Regions from separate parts of the Homo sapiens genome. Here region 1 is linked to region 2. Evidence: promoter capture Hi-C in 16 types of primary human blood cells and fetal thymus (Javierre and others, 2016). All regions are on one chromosome and are shown on one strand. The core of a region is centred on a gene start or on the middle of the fragment in contact, and the rest is flanking DNA. Distances in the headings are between cores, read along the strand shown. Region 1 has its middle 130 kb from the start of RPS6KA2. Region 2 holds the start of GPR31 (G protein-coupled receptor 31).

Region 1 (3,030 bases), core at 398-2,897, 400 kb after region 2:
CCTGGGCAACAGAGCAAGACTCGGTCTCAGAAATGAATAAAAGGCAATTTCTTGCCATCATCACCACGACAACATTCAGTTCGCAAACTCACATCCACCTGCAATTAAATGCCATTAAGAATGAAGGGTTTCCATTGCAAACCCACTAGCTCTCACATGACCACCATTTAGCCAGAGACCAAAGGCCTGATTTATTTTGCTAATGCACTTTCAAAAGTACCAAGTCCTGGAAAATTTCCTTTTAATTCTTATGGAAGTTTGGATTGAATTGTATTTAGGATAACTGTAAATACAGATACCAAAACCCAAATGACTGTAGGTGAGGATTATTCGGACCCTTTGTGCCTCCATTTCCCCCATCCGATTCTTCTTTCCCCAACTCAGTATCCATGCACGTTGCCATCAGGTTGGAAATGGGAAGAGGGATTGCCAGTGAGCAGGCTATTTCAAGCGATTCCAGCAAAATATGTGGTGCAGGAAAGATGAGCATTTTTGGCCGAGCCATTTTCAAGCTTTCCGTGGCTTGCACTGATCTAACCTATGCTAGTTTCCTGTTGCCAGGAGCGATAGAATCAACCTGGAGTCCTCACAGTCTCAAACCAGACCGCGATGGGGGTGGGGGCGGTGCCCACATACTCTGTGCGATGATCTTATCACTTTGACATTCAGTAGATCGCTTTGGTGAGTTCATCTTCGATGTAGTTCAATTGCTTTGCTTGACTTGGGTATTTTTCCTTTGGAGATTAGACCAGCTCAATATATCCTCGAAAGAAGATGTTTATACAATTGTAAACACAATTTCTTAAGAAGCCTTTCACTTTTACTCTGTGTGCAAAATTACCTAAGGAAATATTTGTTCACCAGAATGAGCCCACCTTCCTCTCTCCAAATCGCCATTCCCCAGGTGCCCCTGATTTGCCTAAGCTGGGAACATTGCCCTACATGAGCTACGCATCTTTGCCAACCGAATGAATAGGTTACAGATAGCCAAAAGAAACCTTCCGTTTTTATTCCTGTGTATTTGAAACAATACCAGGGCCCCAACACCACACCCTCAAACAAAAATTTAGTAAAAATTTCTAAATCTCAATCAAGCCTGAATACTACATATTTTAAAATTAAAACAAAGTATTTGTGAAGGACCACAGAGTTAAGTTTTCAGGAAAATATTTTATATTGTCCTCCTTCGACACTCAGAAATCCCCTGCAGTAGGGCTTCACCAAGCACAAACCTCTCTGTACAATGGTGGGAACGGCGCTGCGTTGACCGCTGGGCGAGGATACGGACTCGGCTGCGGCTGTGTCTTCCGCAGGAGCTGAGGCTGCAGCCAGCGGTAGACGGTATGAGAAGACGCCAGCAGTGTGTTTCCAGGAAGCAGGAGTGCCTATTTCTGTGAAAGGCTGCACATATATTTTAAGATCCAGCATTTTCAAAGAGGTGAAATGTGGATGTGGATTCATTTTGGAGAAAAGAAATAGAACTGGGATTGTTTTAAAGCTCCTGATGATTTCACAGAGAGAAGTCAAGGCTGAAACACACCAGCAGTGCTGAGACTCACATAAAATCACAGAGACGAAATTTCGTGAGACTAGAAAGAGCCTTATTTTCTATTAATCTCCCCGTGTTATTATTTTGGGCCAGCAAAAGTAGCAAAAGGTAATTGAGAAATTTTGGAAGACAGAGGCATTTTCTTCTGTTGCCATAACTTGGCCTGTGAACAAACCGTGCTCTATTCTCAAAGTAACAGCTCAGAAGTGTGACCGTTCTGCTTAGAAGTAATATTTGCCAACGGCTCCAGAATAGAAAAAAATGTGTATATAATGGCAGATGTATGGCATGTGTTTCTAAAAATGTTACATTATAGGTTCTTAATAAAGTTCCCATAGTGGAAAGTAGGGTTAATAAAAATGATCCCTTAGAAAGTCCCTCTGAAGGACTGACCAAAGCTCCTTTCAGTTGTTATTTACCTGAAGTATGTATGTATCTGTGTAGACGCAGACCTGCACACACAGGCACACACATGTGCACACACACACACACACGAATGCAACATTGACCTGGATAAATGAGTTTTAATCAGCTCTGCATTCAAGGGAAAGAACATACGCCATGTGTGCTCTGGAAGCCACGAAATGGGTGAAAAGTTGTTTTGGTAGAACCCATTTCCTGAAATAGCAACCACTGGAGAAAGGACGATTGCACTTCAACTATTTCTGTCTGATTGGGAAGGAAATATTCTTTATCTCAATGTCTTGGAGTAAGGAAGGGATGGACAGGGCCCCGTCTTTTAGCAATGCACTACCCTAAATCAAGGTCATTTCTGTCCATTTCAGTCTTAAATTTCCTCTTTGCCTTTGCTTCCTTCTTTTCAAGTCCTGTGTTTTTATATCTGTTTATTTCCACACCTGCATCCTTAGCCGTGGCCTCTATTGTCTGTCACCTCGAAGGCGATTGTCAGTTGGTAGGTCTCTTCTGTTGCATCTGTAGGTTTTCAGAGGAGAAAGCTATTTATGTATTAACAAGAAGCTATACCAGTAAACAAAGGAAACTCCGCCAGTGTCCTGGGTCTGACTCTGAACCTGCCGCCTGTACTCAGCAGCTGCCAATCACACGGAGCCCTGGACGCTTCTGGCAGAACCAAGGCAGGGCTCCATGGCAAGTGAAAGCAAGAAAGGGGCTGATGTTCTGGAAACATGGGAATTCAGTTTTGATCAGGAAAACAAAGCAAATGTTTATGTTAGCCAGAGAGGACATATTCCGAGTTAGCCCGGGAAAAGCTTGTAGAGAGAACGTGCATGCATGTGCACGTGCCTGTGTCTCTGGGGCGGAGGCATCATCTGGAGGGGTAATACAGGGTGATGACATCCTCGCACCCTTGGTGTGCATTCACTGACCCAGCGCCACCTAAAGAAATAAGCAACCATTTTCATTCACCTTCCTCCTACGCCTGCCTCCTCCTTTCAGTTTAAATGACACAGAGAAGGACCGAAGTGTCTTTTCATGCACTGCTAAGGCACGTTGCCAGCCTG
Region 2 (3,132 bases), core at 554-3,053:
TTGATATCATACAAATCACAGCCCTATGGGACTTGAAAAAGAGTGAAGCCTGACCATTAGCCATAGGACTATAGGGAAGCTGTGAATCCAGTTCTGGTTGAAATTTGGGCTGGGAGGGTCCTGGTCCCACCACTTACCTGCCTGTGACCTTGAGCAAATTACCTAATCTTACCATGCCTCCATTTCTTTACTCATAAAATAGAGCTTAACATTGTACCTACTTCATCTCACTATTGTACGGTTCATTGAAATAACTTAGGCCAGCACTAACAATGACTGACACGCAATGAACATGCAGTATACTTTAGTAATAATAATTATTAAAGCCTTAAACTTGGATACTATAATTGAAGGCATCAAAACACCATAGAACGGATATTTAGTACAAAAGTGTTTTATCGCGTTAAGAGATAACGAATAGTTTTTTAAAGCCTATGCATCAGAGAGGCTTAATAAATACTCTAGTAAAAGCATCAAGCTCTCACAACACCCAGACATGGCGCTAAGTGCTTTACCTGTAATAGTACCTTGACTACTCAAAAGAACTCTTCAAGAAGGTGTTACCATCTTCACCTCTCAAGTGAAGAGCCTGGAGTTCAGAGAAGTTAATTTGCTTTCCCAAAACCACACTGCTAATAAATGGAGAAACAAAAAATTATAACTAAAGTTTACTTAACTCCAAAATTCAAACCAGGCTGAATGGACCCAAGATAAATTAGAGTCAACAGTGGGAGAGGACCAACTTAAATTAGAGTCAATATGGGTAAGACCTATGATGAAGTAGGGTCACCAGTTGGTAAGGATCAAGATGAAGTAGGATCAAGAATGGTTAGGACTGAGATAAATTAGGATCATCAGTGGGTAAGAACCAAGATGCAGTAAGGTCAAAAGTGGGAAAAGATCAAGATGAAGTAGGGTCAACGTTGAGTGAAGACCAGGATGAATTAGGGTCAATAGTGGGTAAGGACCAAGGTAAATTAGGGTCAACATTGGGTGAGAACCAAGTATAATAGGGTCATTGATGGGTAAGGACTGAGATGTATTAGGGTCATCAGAGGGTAATGATGACTGCACACGTTTATTCATCAAAGAAATGCTTGTTGATAATGCTGTGTGCCAGGCATTGTCTGTCACTAGCGACACATGGATATATGGAGTATGTCCCTGGCTGATGAACCTAACTTTCTAGTGGATTCTACGCATTTTTACAAGCCATTGATTTTTCCATGCTTCCAGGGCCCACTCCAGGCCCTGCTGGTCCAGATCCCAATCCAAGTGGTGTACTAGGTAGGAAAGACTCCAGCAGAGAAAATAAAATAAATTTGTATTTAACAAAACACAAGTACAAGTGAAACCATCAGCTATGGAATGAGCAGGTTGTCTCAAATCCCCTTTCAAGTTTAAGTGTGGGGACCACATCTGACCAGTGTGTAAAATCAAGCCCCATGCAGAAGGATCCCAGCAAGCGTCCTTTATGTATGAAAAGGAAGAAGAAAATTTCCCCATGAAACATATTCAAAGTAGAGAACAATCTTTTTGATTCCATTGTTATTTTAATTGTATACAGACATAGGAGTCTTTGCATAATTAGACTTTTCCTTCTTTCAGGACTGTGGATGCAAAGCCCTGGACCCCCAGACGTTATAGGACATTACTCCTCAGCTTTGCAGCCCGGTGATGTGAAGCGAAACACCATTTCCCCTTTTTTATGGCGGAAGAAAACAGAACACAACTGCAAAGGGGCTTTTCCCTCCCCTGCTCATCCTCTTTCCCCAAATGAATTTTGGTTTGCTGTGGACTCTATTCTGCTGAGGAACTGTTCTTGTTGGGCAAATGTAGATCTTGTCTACTCTGTGGCAGGAAAAGGCCTTTTCTTTCATTTTGTAAGAAAGAGCACAGAGTTCCTCCTGTACCTGCTCCAGCTGTGCCTGCAGCCCCTCACGGCCGGGTGATGCCATTCCCAAACTGCTCAGCCCCCAGCACTGTGGTGGCCACAGCTGTGGGTGTCTTGCTGGGGCTGGAGTGTGGGCTGGGTCTGCTGGGCAACGCGGTGGCGCTGTGGACCTTCCTGTTCCGGGTCAGGGTGTGGAAGCCGTACGCTGTCTACCTGCTCAACCTGGCCCTGGCTGACCTGCTGTTGGCTGCGTGCCTGCCTTTCCTGGCCGCCTTCTACCTGAGCCTCCAGGCTTGGCATCTGGGCCGTGTGGGCTGCTGGGCCCTGCACTTCCTGCTGGACCTCAGCCGCAGCGTGGGGATGGCCTTCCTGGCCGCCGTGGCTTTGGACCGGTACCTCCGTGTGGTCCACCCTCGGCTTAAGGTCAACCTGCTGTCTCCTCAGGCGGCCCTGGGGGTCTCGGGCCTCGTCTGGCTCCTGATGGTCGCCCTCACCTGCCCGGGCTTGCTCATCTCTGAGGCCGCCCAGAACTCCACCAGGTGCCACAGTTTCTACTCCAGGGCAGACGGCTCCTTCAGCATCATCTGGCAGGAAGCACTCTCCTGCCTTCAGTTTGTCCTCCCCTTTGGCCTCATCGTGTTCTGCAATGCAGGCATCATCAGGGCTCTCCAGAAAAGACTCCGGGAGCCTGAGAAACAGCCCAAGCTTCAGCGGGCCCAGGCACTGGTCACCTTGGTGGTGGTGCTGTTTGCTCTGTGCTTTCTGCCCTGCTTCCTGGCCAGAGTCCTGATGCACATCTTCCAGAATCTGGGGAGCTGCAGGGCCCTTTGTGCAGTGGCTCATACCTCGGATGTCACGGGCAGCCTCACCTACCTGCACAGTGTGCTCAACCCCGTGGTATACTGCTTCTCCAGCCCCACCTTCAGGAGCTCCTATCGGAGGGTCTTCCACACCCTCCGAGGCAAAGGGCAGGCAGCAGAGCCCCCAGATTTCAACCCCAGAGACTCCTATTCCTGACAACAGCCAGCGTCCTCAACGCCCGTGTTTATGGAACTACCTGCGACCTAAATAATAATTACTCCTACTTTGGGATTCTGGAAGAAGAAGAAGTCTTAAGACTGCAATACAAGGATCAGAGCATAAACATGGGCACAGTTGCTGCAGGTGTGGTCTTATACTTTGTTGACCAGGGTGGTCCTCTGTGATTTTACCTTGTAGAGTGGCAAATCAAAATGAAC

The links. The method cuts DNA at HindIII sites, captures the fragments that hold promoters and counts their contacts. A CHiCAGO score of 5 or more calls a contact.
Region 1: a contact is called between a fragment that was not itself captured here and the fragment with the promoter of GPR31 in region 2, in 2 of 17 cell types (activated CD4 T cells and non-activated CD4 T cells). The highest score is 7.7, in activated CD4 T cells.

What each region holds. Positions count from the first base shown.
Region 1 is chr6:166,758,080-166,761,109 of GRCh38, reverse strand. It overlaps a transcript of RPS6KA2 not described here. Among named protein-coding and RNA genes, the nearest start is that of RPS6KA2, 130 kb to the right of the region's middle. The HindIII fragment of the contact is 2,266 bases long and covers 515-2,780 here.
Region 2 is chr6:167,156,651-167,159,782 of GRCh38, reverse strand. GPR31 (G protein-coupled receptor 31) reads left to right here and starts at 1,803. Exons shown (of 1, transcript NM_005299.3): 1 at 1,803-3,132. The coding sequence starts at 1,952. The coding sequence ends at 2,911. The HindIII fragment of the contact is 7,257 bases long and covers 1-2,601 here.